Linked DNA regions of Homo sapiens: all the other regions are linked to region 3. The links are contacts of gene promoters, found by promoter capture Hi-C in human tissues and cell types (Jung and others, 2019). All regions are on one chromosome and are shown on one strand. Each heading gives the region's core, a stretch centred on a gene start or on the middle of the fragment in contact. The rest is flanking DNA. Distances are from core to core; before and after follow the strand shown. Region 1 overlaps ANKRD11 (ankyrin repeat domain containing 11). Region 2 overlaps ANKRD11 (ankyrin repeat domain containing 11). Region 3 holds the start of ANKRD11 (ankyrin repeat domain containing 11).

Evidence for each region. The method cuts DNA at HindIII sites, captures the fragments that hold promoters and counts their contacts. A contact is called where the count stands out against the background at its distance.
Region 1: a fragment that was not itself captured here is called in contact with the fragment with the promoter of ANKRD11 in region 3 in 3 of the 25 tissues and cell types used here (mesenchymal stem cells, pancreas and spleen).
Region 2: a contact is called between a fragment that was not itself captured here and the fragment with the promoter of ANKRD11 in region 3, in 2 of the 25 tissues and cell types used here (hippocampus and mesenchymal stem cells).

The regions. Positions count from the first base shown.
Region 1 is chr16:89,432,977-89,437,412 of GRCh38, forward strand. All of the region lies in intron 1 of ANKRD11 (ankyrin repeat domain containing 11), which reads right to left. The region is part of intron 1 of LOC101927817 (a long non-coding RNA gene); the gene reads left to right. Among named protein-coding and RNA genes, the nearest start is that of ANKRD11, 55 kb to the right of the region's middle. RefSeq lists an enhancer at 1-711. The HindIII fragment of the contact is 5,175 bases long and covers 1-4,436 here.
Region 2 is chr16:89,454,514-89,458,813 of GRCh38, forward strand. The region is part of intron 1 of ANKRD11 (ankyrin repeat domain containing 11); the gene reads right to left. It also overlaps the pseudogene CMPK1P2. Among named protein-coding and RNA genes, the nearest start is that of ANKRD11, 34 kb to the right of the region's middle. RefSeq lists an enhancer at 3,832-4,300. The HindIII fragment of the contact is 8,928 bases long and covers 1-4,300 here.
Region 3 is chr16:89,487,845-89,492,015 of GRCh38, forward strand. It overlaps ANKRD11 (ankyrin repeat domain containing 11), which reads right to left and starts at 2,717. Exons shown (of 13, transcript NM_013275.6): 1 at 2,401-2,717. LOC101930112 (a long non-coding RNA gene) reads left to right here and starts at 3,126. Exons shown (of 2, transcript XR_933895.4): 1 at 3,126-3,542. RefSeq lists enhancers at 1-405, 184-453, 604-673, 1,263-1,776, 1,777-2,291 and silencers at 1,573-1,642, 1,683-1,792, 1,873-1,922, 2,497-2,976, 3,177-3,266 and 1 more. The HindIII fragment of the contact is 15,043 bases long and covers 1-4,171 here.

The sequences.
Region 1 (4,436 bases), core at 664-3,163, 56 kb before region 3:
TCTCTCTCTCTCTCCTCTCTCTCACACACACACACACACACACGAAATATATGGACACAGGCCACATTATATACAAGCATTGCCATAATAAAAACAGCTCTCCCTTGGCCTCTGAGCATTTTACCCTTTTGATCCATTCAGCTTCTTTAGAACAGATGGATATTCACCATAAGATGTAGTTTATGGACAAGAGTAATTTGGAAATGAAAAAGGAAGACAGTAAGGAGGCCTCCCCTTCAAGAGGGTTTCATGACAAGGCCCAGTTGAGTGGCCATGACTGGCCGGATCCTTTGGCCCTAACATATGGATCCCTCCAGGCTCTTTCAGTCTGCTAACCTACAAGTTAATTAGTCCATTTCTAGGAAGAAAGTGTCCGTTGTCTCCTCTGCAGACTTTCCACTTCCTGACAGCACAGGAACCTAACAGCATGCCAAGTTCAGACTCCTTTTTCTTTGCACCTCACTACCACCGACAGGCTTTCAAACATACTATTCAGAACAGAGACACGGCGTTGGCCACCAGTCCCAGCTCCAGCAACACTAAAAGGCCTCCCTAAAGGAGCAGCAGGAGCGCAACAGAGAAGAACAGGGTTGGACGTGGGGGCTGGGCACACCACCTTCACCAGAGTAAGAGAGAAGGAACGGGCTTGGACGCAGCAGGGCTGGGCACGCCACCTTCACGAGAGTAAGAGAGAAGGAACGGGCTTGGACGCAGCAGGGCTGGGCACGCCACCTTCACGAGAGTAAGAGAGAAGGAACGGGCTTGGACGCAGCAGGGCTGGGCACGCCACCTTCACGAGAGTAAGAGAGAAGCAACGGGCTTGGACGCGGGGACTGGGCACGCCACCTTCTCCAGCCCCAGAGCCCCACTGTGGAGAGAAAAGGGGCTGCTCTCTGCCTCAGAATCCAAGAACTCCTGAGAAAACAGCTACATCGACATCTGGTATTAACATTTGATTGTTTAACCACACTATAAGGGAGAAGGGGACATGGACACTGGCTTCTAAATACAGAAGTTTCCAGCTCCCAGCTGGTTACTCTGAGAAGATGCCCCTAGTGTGTCACCTACAGAGAAGGGAGGATGCCCACCTACCCTGCCTGGCCTGCACCACCCACTAGAAATAAACAACAGGCCCCAAATGCAAACAGGACCAAGAGAAGGGCCATACGGCAGCAGCACCCCAGTGCCTCCAAGATGCCACTCACCCATGGTGCACCCTACACACACTCACCTCCTCAAGACACTATGGATTCTGTGTGTCTGGGGGTGAACTGCAATTTTTTTAATGTTTTCCAAGTAAATCTAATTTAAAAAAAAATCACTGATCTAGCCCTTCCTCACCCAAACTCCCAGTCATACAGTTGTCGAAATAATGACCATAAAGCAATTCTTCTCTAACTTGAGAATTCTCATACTCTTCTTCTCCACGCAAGTCGGAAAGACCTAGTCTGAGAAAGAAAGCCATAAAAATGAGAGAATCCAGCGAAGTCGCTGCAGCCAGGAGGAGCAGCACCGCGCAGTCCTGTGCCTCACCCCTGCCCAGGCCACCTGAGCCCCACCTGTCACAGTAAGGCTGCAGAAGCATGCGGCTGGTCAGCAGCTAATCAGCAGAAGGAAAGCTGGCCCGACAATCCATGCCTATAAATTCCACAACAGATGTCTCCTGAGGTCCAAAATCTGCTCTTATTAAAGAGTGGCGTGTGGGATGGGCAGAGACTCACACAGCCACACCACACACACAAGGTCTCAGGACTCTAGCCAAGGTCTTCTAGTTTGTAGTGGCCTCATGTTTGATGAGCATCTAATAACAAAGACAGGAAAGCACTGGATGGAGACGCGGCGAGGACACTGGCTGTCTGGGGCAGCCTTGCCCTGAGGAAGTTATGCTCTAACTGGTGAGACTGCACCAAGGCACAAGAAAACCCACGACAAACTGAAGTGTCCATGCGGATGGCTAGGTGAAGCAGGGCGCAGGCCCAGGTGTGAACACTCAACTGCTGGGAGCCCAAGACCAACTGATACACCCACAGCCACCAGCTCTTCATGAGAGGTGAAGCCAGCTGGGCTTCTGGGTCGGGTGGGGACTTGGAAAACTCTTCTGTCTAGCTAAAGGTCTGTAAATGCACCAATCAGCACTCTGTACAAATGCATCAATCAGCGCTGTCTAGCTAAAGGTTTCTAAACTCACCAATCAGCACTCTGTAAAAACGCACCAATCAGCACTCTGTGTCTAGCTAAAGGTTTATAAACTAACCAATCAGCATTCTGTAAAAATGGACCAATCAGCACTCTGTAAAATGGCCCAATCAGCGCTCTGTAAATGGACCAATCAGCAGTACGTGGGCAGGGCCGAATAAGGGAATAAAAGCTGGCCACATGAGCCAGCAGCAGCAACCCACTGGGGTCCCCTTCCATGCTGTGGGAGCTGTGTTCTTTCACTCTTCACAATAAATCTTGCTGCTGCTCACTCTTTGGGTCTGTACTACCTTTATGAGCTGTAACCCTCAGCGCGAAGGTCTGCAGCTTCACTCCTGAAGTCAGCGAGACCACGAACCCACCAGAAGGAAAACACTCCAGACACATCTGAAAATCTGAAGGAACAAACTCCGGACACACCATCTTTAAGAACTGTGACACTCACCGCGAGGGTCCACAGCTTCATTCTTGAAGTCAGCGAGACCGAGAACCCACCGGAAGGAACCAATTCCAGACACATTCACACGCAGACGTACTTTCGTTCTGTCCTGCTGGGAGTCCAAGACCAACTGACTGTCCACTCAAGGAACAGACCAACTGACGCACCCACAGCCACCAGCTCTTCACACACACACACACACACACACACACACACACACACACGCTTTCGGTCTGTTCGCTCAAGGAACAGGAAGCCTTTTTCACTTCAACTTCTGCATTCAGTTCAATGTGCTGGTGCCGCCCATCACCTCTAAATCACCGCAAGTTTCAAGAACAGCCAGTTGTGTCCTGGAGCTGTGCTGAGCACGCCCACCAGCCCAGCAGGTGCTGCTGAGAGCAGAGGGTTTTGCAGGGTCACACATTCTTCCAACAATATGACTGCAGACCCCCCAGCAAAAGGAAAGATTCCCCATTTGGGAAAGTAGACTAAAATTTTCTTCTATTAAAACATGATAATTCGGCCGGGCACAGTGGCTCATGCCTGTAATCCCAGCACTTTAGGAGACGGAGATGGGTGGATCACCTGAGGTCAGGAGTTCGAGACCAGCCTGGCCAACTCGGTGAAACCTATCTGTACTAACAATACAAAAATGAGCTGGGCGTGATGGCTCAGAACCTGTAGTCCCAGCTACGTGGGAGGCTGAGGCACGAGAATTGCTTAAACCCAGGAGATGGAGGTTACAGTGAGCCAAGATCATGCCACTGCACTCCAGCCTGGGCAACAGAGTGAGACTCGGTCTCAAAAAAAAAAAGATAATCCAAGTTTCTCCTGACAGATGACATTCATCAACAAGAGATTCAAGCAGAAAAGACCACTGTCTCTAACAGCAAGTATTATACAAGAGCCTCAAGCGACGTCTGCCTTGGGTGTTGGGACATAGCAAACAGGACGGCTGTTCCGCAAGAGCAGGACTGAAGCAGGCGGAAATGAAGACGCAGGGGCATCAGCCATCAGAGCTCTTCTTCCTGGAATAACTATTCCTCTAAGCTGCTCCTTCAGATACAAAATAAAAAGTAACTCTCAACACTGACAAGTCAACGGAGGACACGCGAAAAACCAAAAAACTTTTACTATATTTTTGTTTTAATAAAGTTATTCTAATCCCCTGAGGTAACTGTGAGGGAATTAATAACTAGAGAACTGTTAGAGACCCCTGAAGGTTGGACAATGGTATTGCCGAAGCTTTGTGTTTTGCTCTTCAATAAACTTATCTACTTTCTTAAGCTAACTGAATAAAATTTAATATACATTTATCAACCACATCTTTTAAAAAGAGAGAAAAGTAGGAAACTCAAAGTAGTTTCCTTTAAACAAAAGATGGTCAAAGTTGATGAATTTAGAACATTTGTCCCCAATATCCTAAAAAGTGACATACGAGGAAGGAGATGTCACAGAAGAAAACGACAACACACACCCAAACGGCATCAGCCTGTGTGTGACCATTTTCACAACAGGGAAGGGAACGAAGCGAACAGATCCATCACTGAAAGCGCAGCACACACCTTCTAACCTGGAAATGGAGAAGGAACGTCCACTTATGAAGAGGGCCAACAACAGTGGCCTCTCATTCCATGAACCAAGCATGATGCTAATATGCTAATATGACAGAGAATTTTTTAAAAAGCCACCAAAAAAATACCAAAAAGTGAAAGACTGTATTGTTTGCCCCAACATCTGTTTTCTTCACTCTAATGTTCCCAAACCAGTGCAGCAAACAGGCTGGCTCTTCCCGCCTCCC
Region 2 (4,300 bases), core at 1,259-3,758, 34 kb before region 3:
ACAAATTATAACTCTGTCTTAAACCAAGCCACTATGAAAGCGGCTCTAGGCCAGACTCTCAGCAGCTACCACTGCTACGGTTCCTCAAGCTGCTCCCCTGGGTGCTTCCAGGGTTCCTCAAGCTGCTCCCCTGGGTGCTTCCAGGGTTCCTCAAGCTGCTCCCCTGGGTGCTTCCAGGGTTCCTCAAGCTGCTCCCCTGGGTGCTTCCAGGGTTCCTCAAGCTGCTCCCCTGGGTGCTTCTAGGGTTCCTCAAGCTGCTCCCCTGGGTGCTTCTAGGGTTCCTCAAGCTGCTCCCCTGGGTGCTTCCAGGGTTCCTCAAGCTGCTCCCCTGGGTGTTTCTAGGGTTCCTCAAGCTGCTCCCCTGGGTGCTTCTAGGGTTCCTCAAGCTGCTCCCCTGGGTGCTGTTAGGGTTCCTCAAGCTGCTCCCCTGAGTGTTTCTAGGGTTCCTCAAGCTGCTCCCCTGGGTGCTTCTAGGGTTCCTCAAGCTGCTCCCCTGGGTGCTGTTAGGGTTCCTCAAGCTGCTCCCCTGGGTGCTTCTAGCGTTCCTCAAGCTGCTCCCCTGGGTGCTTCTAGGGTTCCTCAAGCTGCTCCCCTGGGTGCTTCTAGGGTTCCTCAAGCTGCTCCCCTGGGTGCTGTTAGGGTTCCTCAAGCTGCTCCCCTGGGTGCTTCTAGCATTCCTCAAGCTGCTTCCCTGGGTGCTTCTAGGGTTCCTCAAGCTGCTCCCCTGGGTGCTGTTAGGCTTCCTCAAGCTGCTCCCCTGGGTGCTTCTAGCGTTCCTCAAGCTGCTTCCCTGGGTGCTTCTAGGGTTCCTCAAGCTGCTCCCATGGGTGCTGTTAGGGTTCCTCATGCTATCTCCCCTTAAGTGCTGTGGCAGCAGTGCAGAGCCCACATAGCTATATAAGCTACTCAGTAAGAAAAACCACACAGGAGCTACACGCACCACATCATGGACAAACCTCAAAACACACCAGGTGGGGATGTCACTGAAAACAGCCCCAAAACTCACTCCTTCCAACACTGCATGAGTAAGCTGCAAAAACTGTCAGAATCAACTCTTCAGAACTGTGGAGTCTAATAAAAAACTTCTAACAAGCAGAGAACGCCTAATGAAAAAGCTGCTCGATTTGGGCAGGAGAGAGCTGTGGAGAGGAACTTACCTGCTCACACACCTCATCCTTGGAGACAGCAGCCCCCATTGCTGGTACAAAAGAGTGCCGCAGACTCAATTCTCAAAGAATTGGGGCTGTACATTTTGACCTATCTGGTAGGAATGTAAAATGGTGCAGCTGTTGTTGAAATACTTTGGCAATTCCTCAAAAGGTAAACACAGAACTATGATATAACACAGCAATTCCACTCCTTGGTATATGCCCAAAAAGTGTTCAAATGGAAACCTGTGCACACATGCTCACAGCACTATTGAAAACAGAAAGGTGGAAACAGGTAGGGCGTGGTGGCTCACACCTCTAATCCCAGCACTTTTGAGAGGCTGAAGCTGGCCAATCACCTGAGGTCAGGAGTTTGAGACCAGCCTGGCCAACATGCTGAAATCCTGTCTCTACTGAAAAATACAAAAAGTAGTCTGGTGTGGTGGCGTGCACCTGTAGTCCCAGCTACCCGGGAGGCTAAGGCAGGAGAATCATTTGAACCCAGGAGGCGGATGTTGCAGTGAACCGAGATTGTGCCACTATACTCCAGCCTGGGCAACAGAACAAGATTCGGTCCCAAAAAAAAAAGGGGGGGTGGAAACGGGGGCCAGGCAAGCTGGCTCATGCCTGTAATCCCAGCACTTCGGGAGGGCAAGACAGGCAGACCACTTGAGGTCAGGAGTTCGAGACCAGCCTAACCAACATGGAAAAACCCTGTCTCTACTAAAAATAGAAAATTAGCCGAGCGTGGTGGCATGTGCCAGTAATGCCAGCTACTCGGGAGGCTGAGGCAGGAGAATCACTTGAACCCGGGAGGCGGAGGTTGCAGCAAGCCGAGATCACGCCACTCCAGGCTGGGTGACAGAGCAAGACTCCGTTTCAAAAAAAAAAAAAAAAGATGGAAACAAGCCAAGTGTCAATCAAGACAGGATGGGTAAACACCCTGCCTACACCCAGACAATGCAGCATTATTCACAAGTAAACAGGAATACAGTTCCAAGACATACAACATAGATGGACTCCAAAAACACGTTATGTGAAAGAAGCCGGACACTAAAGGCCATATATTATATGAACTCATTCCTAGGAAGTCTCCAAAATAGACAGATCCACAGTGGCACAGAGTCAACAGTGGCTGAAGAGCTGCGGAGAAGTGGAGCGCTTCCTTCGGGGGGAACAGAAATATCCTGGAATAGACATAATGGTGCTAGTTGCACAAAGTTGTAAATGTGCTACAGGCCATGGAATTGTACACATTCAAATGGTCAGAGTGGTGGGGTGTTCGTTATGTGAGTCTTTTTTTTTTTTTTTTTTTTGAGACGGAGTCTCGCTCTGTCGCCCAGGCTGGAGTGCAGTGGCGCAATCTCGGCTCACTGCAAGCTCCGCCTCCCGGGTTCACGCCATTCTCCTGCCTCAGCCTCCCAAGTAGCTGGGACTACAGGCGCCCGCCACTACGCCCGGCTAATTTTTTGTATTTTTAGTAGAGACGGGGTTTCACCGTTTTAGCCGGGATGGTCTCGATCTCCTGACCTCGTGATCCGCCCGCCTCGGCCTCCCAAAGTGCTGGGATTACAGGCGTGAGCCACCGCGCCCGGCCGAGTCTTACCTCAATAAAATTAAAGTAGTATGTCAGACTCAAAAGACTACAAATTCCAGGCCAGGCGCAGTGGCTCACGCCTGTAATCTCAGCACTTTGGGAGGATGAGGTGGGCAGATCATGCGGTCAGGAGTTCAAGACCAGCCCAGTCAATATGGTAAAACCCTGTCTCTACTTGAAAATACAAAAATTAGCCAGGCGTGGTGGTGGGCACCCGTAATCCCAGCTACTCGGGAGGCTAGGGCAGAAGAATCACTTGAACCCGGGAGGCGGAGGCTGCAGTGAGCTGAGATCGCGCCACTGCACTCCAGCAAGGCTCCGTCTCAAGAAAAAAAAAAAAAAAGACTACAAATTCCATTCATATGAAATTCTAAAATAAGCAAAACTAATCCACAATAACAGAAAGTGGGCTGGCAGTGCTTGGGGCAGTGGAGGGTTCTGGTTACAAATGGGCATTCTGCGGTGATGGAAATGTCTGTGTCAAGCTGGTGCTTAATACCTGGGGTATCAAAACTGTCAAACTCATCCTACTGTACCTTCTAAAATGGCTGCTTTTATTATATAAAGTATACAGGTATAAACATCACTGAAGAAATCCAGGTACATGTGAAACACACAAGTGTGGAGCTGAATGGAGCCACGCGAACCAATACACAATCGTCAGATTCAGACCCAGACCCCAGCTGAGACGGCACCTCGCAATGACTTGCTCCCAAAGAAAGATGTTCTGGCCAGAGCCCTGGAGACCCCACACCTGGGGACTGGAGACCGCAGCCATCCACCTGCAACTCTGTTCTCAGACACCTCTGCTGTGCGGTGGCCCCAGGAAAGCAGTGACACAAAAAGAAAAAAAAAAGCTTTCTGAAACGGTGCTTTAGAGGTTTAACCAAAATAAAACTCAACCAATTTTCTTCAAAACATAAACTCCTGTTCTTGTTGTACTTTAGCACTTGCTTTACGTAATTTCATTTCTTTTTTTTTTTTGAGACGGAATCTCACTGTGTCACCCAGGTTGGAGTGCAGTGGCGCGATCTCCGCTCACTGCAAGCTCCGCCTCCCGGGTTCAGGCCATTCTCCTGCCTCAGCCTCCTGAGTAGCTGGGACTACAGGCGCCCGCCACCACGCCCGGCTAATTTTTTGTATTTTTAGTAGAGACGGGGTTTCACCATGTTAGCCAGGATGGTCTCGATCTCCTGACCTCGTGATCCGCCCATCTCGGCCTCCCAAAGTGCTGGGATTACAGGCGTGAGCCACCGTGCCCGGCCACGTAATTTCATTTCTTAGGAATAACATTTTACATTAAAGAAAATACTTTGCCACGCTTTCACTCATGATTTTGCAGTTCCACTGGAAGGCTGAACATCACTCTGGCAAGTTCAGACATGTTCCATTAATCATCTCCAAGGCTGCTTGCTACAAAGAAGCTGTTTCATTCAACAGCATCTCCTTAAACAAAATCCAAGCCTGCTTTGCCTTTGGTAACCAAAACTTGATTTAACCTCCCAAAGAGGGAGCCAGCCTGCTGCTGGCCACTGCGTGCCCTAGGCCTCAGCTT
Region 3 (4,171 bases), core at 1,467-3,966:
AGTTTCCTTCACTCTATTTGTAGGGAGTTCTACTTGCCACCGTATCAACACTGTAATTACCGCTAACATGGCAGCCGCTCGTCATCAACAGCCCATCTGGGAGGGTGTGATGGCACTGCTGGTATGGGGTGCCCAGCATGGCCAGTCCGGAGAAAAGCATCTGGCGGTGGCAATGCAAGTCAGAAGGCTGACGCAAATGAGAGCTGCAAAAGAGGAACTCAGGTTTTAAAGGTGACACCTTTAAAAACAAAATTCTGGTAAATTGTGTTATGTATATTTTACTACAGCAAAAATAGAACAGAAGAAAAAAACTGCTGAAAGTTTCAAGTTTAGGTCAAATTTAGCACTATCTTGTGGGGAACTTTTCAACAAACTTAAGAGGCATCACGAAGAACAGAGAAAACGTCACAGCAACTTGGTCTTTGTTCCCTCCCATCCAGTTCCATTCAGATGGCCAGCCTATCGAAGGAGATCCTGCTCTTCGGGGAGAAACTACAGAAAGAGGAGAACAACAGCTGAATGGAGGGTAGGGGAGGCCACACCAACTATACGAGATCCAATGCAAGGGTCACAATGAAGGCTGAGCAAGACATCCGCCCCCCCCCCTTTTTTTCTAGTTTAACTACAGTTGCAGAGTAAAATCAGAGGACTTCTGTAATCATTCTCTAACAGAACTCGAAGTCTTCCAGGGCAGCCAATACTTACTAAGAGAAATCAAGGTCTCAGAGAAACCAAAGAAACAGCCTCAGGGTCTCCGATTTTGAACGTTATGCCATAGACTAGGTCTGCACACAACAAAAACAGTAACTGTTTCGATGGCACTTTTTCCACAGGTAATATCATCTTATATGTTTGGCTAAGTCTCAACATCCCAAAAAGGATCAAAAGATTCTCTAAGTTTTGCAGTTCAACAACTGTGCACACTTTTATTTCTCATTTCAAGTGTTAAGGATATTGCTCTAATGACTGCATAAAACTCTCTCCTCATGTAAGAAAGCCTGAAATCTAATTTCTCTACCATAAAACCCTGTTCTTGCAAAAGGATACAAAACTACTCATAATCTACAAAAACGATGAATCCTAAGCATGTTACATAGAAGGAAAACAGTTTCAAAGCATAGGGAGCTGTTAGACCAGCTTCATCTTCCCAAGCCTCTTCCAAAACTTCTTGGAAGCTGATATATAACACTAACCTTCCAAAAACACAACAGAAGCAGAAAATCTTAATGGGGCACCAGGAAAAGAGCAAGCCTCGAGAAAAATCAAGACTCCCCCCGACCAACCTTCCCAAATAACACAAACACAAGAGTTAACAGTACAATCCCTCTTTGAGAGGGGACTGAATCAATGTGGCAGGGCCAACCCTACACACACACACACACGCGCGCGCGCGCGCGCGCGCACACACATACACCACACACACAGCTACCGCCCTGCCAGGGGATGATGAAATGAGGAACGGAAATTAACATTTCAGGCAACGTCTCACATTGTTCCTTGAGGCCAAGGGCTGCTGTTGCAGCCGCCACCGCCACCGCTTTCCTCCCAGCCACCCCCCACACCCGCCCGCCTACCCTCCCCCTAACACCCCCCACACGGCTGCCCGCATTCCTGCCCCTCCTCGGCCTACGCGCGCCTCCTGCAACCCCGACGCCCCCAGGTCCCCAGTTCGCCCTCCCCCTCCGGCTCGGAGCCCGAGAGCCGCCTGCTCTCATTTCAAAACAGCGATAATAATAGGGACGCTGAGAATAACAACTACGACCAGCACGGCGAAGGCGCCCCTCTCGCGGGTCAGAGGTCGGCGCCCCAGCTCCGCAGAACCCGGCGCCCGGCCAGCGCCCCCTGGCAGCCCCTCCCGGCAGCCTCAGGTCCCCAAGACCTGCAGGCCCGCCCCGAAGCCCCCCGTCCGCCCCTCACGGCCGCTCCGAGCCCCCGAGGCCCGCCCCGGAGCCCCCTGTCCGCCTCTCACGGCCGCCCCGGGCCCCCACGGCCCCCAGGCCCGCCCCGGAGCCCCCAATCGGCCCCTCAGAGCCGCCGCGGGCCCCCGGCCACCCAGGCCCGCCCGGAGCCCCCGTCCGCCCCTTACGGCCGACCCAAGCTCCGCCGACCTCCCAGGCCCCCCCCGGAGCCCCCTATGGGCCCCTCACGGCCACCCCGGGCCCCCAAAGACCCCCGGCTGCCCCGAACCCGGACCCGTAGGCCCGCTCCGGGACCCATTATTGGTCCCTCACGATCGCCCCGGGCCCCCAAAGACCCCCGCCCACCCGGCCCCGACCCCCCAGGCCCGCCCGGAGGCCCGCGGCGCAGCTCCGTCGCCGGGGAAGGCCTGCAGGCCGCAAGGCCGCGCGAATGCCCCGTGCCCGCCCCGACCACCGCCCCCAGACCAGCGGCGCCTCTCACCGTGCTCCGAGGGCTGCGCGGCTCCGCGACGGCTCAGCGGCGGGGCGCGGGCGCTGCCCATGCAGCCCGCGGCCGCGTTTCCCGGGCCGCGCGGCCCGAGCGGCAAGGCGGCGGCGGCGGCGGCGCGGGCTCGGGCCCGGCAGAGCTGCGAGGGACGGCGGGAGGCGAGCCCGCCCCTCGGGCGCGCCCACGGCTCGGGCGAGAGCCGCGGCTCCCGGTGCGGACGCTACTGATGGGGCGTCTGGCCGCGGGCTCGGCGGCGGCGCCTCCCCGGCTGGGGCCCTCGGTCCATCGCGCACCGTCTCAGGGCGGCCTCTGGCTCCAGGACCCAGCGGCGGCTGCGGCGGGAGCCGGCCGCATGAGACGCTCCCGCCCATTGGCCCGCCGTATCCGCCACCGCCATTGGCCCGCCCCGGCCGGCCGCAGGGGCTGTGCACGTCACAGCGCCGTGAGTTAGTGCGCTAATGGAGTGAAGGAGAGAGGCGGGATTGACAGCCTCTCTGGCGGTCCGGAGGCGGGACTAGGAGGACGTCCCGGTAACGATTGGGCAGGGTCCTGCGTAAGGGCGCATGCGACACTGGAAGTAGCGAGCAACTGGATTGGCTGCCTCCGTCGCAAAGGAGGGTGGGTCTTGCATTCTCGGGCCTGACGATTGGTCTTTCCAAGTGCCGGAAGCAACAGGGATGTCGTCTGGAAACAAAATCTGGTATTGAAGCGCAGGGAGACAAAACGTCCACCTCTAGAGCCGAGGCGGCGGTTGCCTGTCGCGTGCCCGTGGTCTTCTGCCTGCCCCCGGACATCTCGGGCCACGTCCGGCCCGGCCTCCGGCCGCGCTGCCCTAACGGGCGTCACGGGGCATGAAGAGCTCTGGGCGGCTGCGAGGGGAGGGTACCGGGGCAGCGGGGCGGTCGCTCGGGGCTCCCGCGCGGTGACTCTTGCTCTGCCGTCGAAGAGAACGGCCCTCGGGCGCGTCGCGGCCGCGGCTCCAGAGCCCCTGGGCCTCGCGCTCTGAGAGCCTGAGCCGCTTGAGGAGGCCAAGCGCCCACGAACCGCATTCCCTGCCTTGCTAGTTAGTTCTCCAACACGCGAAAAAGGTAGACGAGGACTGGTTTTCTTTGCAGCTAAAATGAATCAAGCCTCTGGTAAGTGTGGATCCTGTTCTAAGTGCACCTGTGTTCTCCTCCAGAACTAAACCAAAAAGCAAGGTGAACAAAATCGGTGCTCCTTCAGTTTCTTCTTTAGTTCTGCATGTTACTGGGGACTAAGACAACGGGTAAGCAAACTATTTATAGGCCTCAATTTACGAAATAACGGAATTGCAAAGTCCGGAGTGGATAGGACCGTGAGGACGGTCTTTTTTCTTGGGCAACACGCATTATGGTCGAGAGATCAGTTGTTAAACCGCCCCTGTTCAAATCCCAGCCCTACCAGTGACTAGCGGTCACCCTGTAGGCTTTGTCTCTCAGATCTTCAGTTTCTTGGTGGGTAAAATGGGAACTACAAGTAGCACCTATTCTTTTTTTTTTTTTTTTTTGAGTCAGGGTCTCACTCTGTCGCCCATGCTGGAGTGCAGTGCTAACTGCAGCCTCAGCTTCCCGGGCTCAGAGGATCCTCCCACCTTAGCCTACTAAGTAGGTGGGACCACAGTCAGGCATCACCACACCCGGCTAATTTTTTAAATTTTCGTAGAGATAGGCTCTCTGTGTGTTTCCCAGGCTGGTCTTGAAATCCTGGACTCAAGCGACCCTCCCTCCTCAGCTTCCCAAAGTGC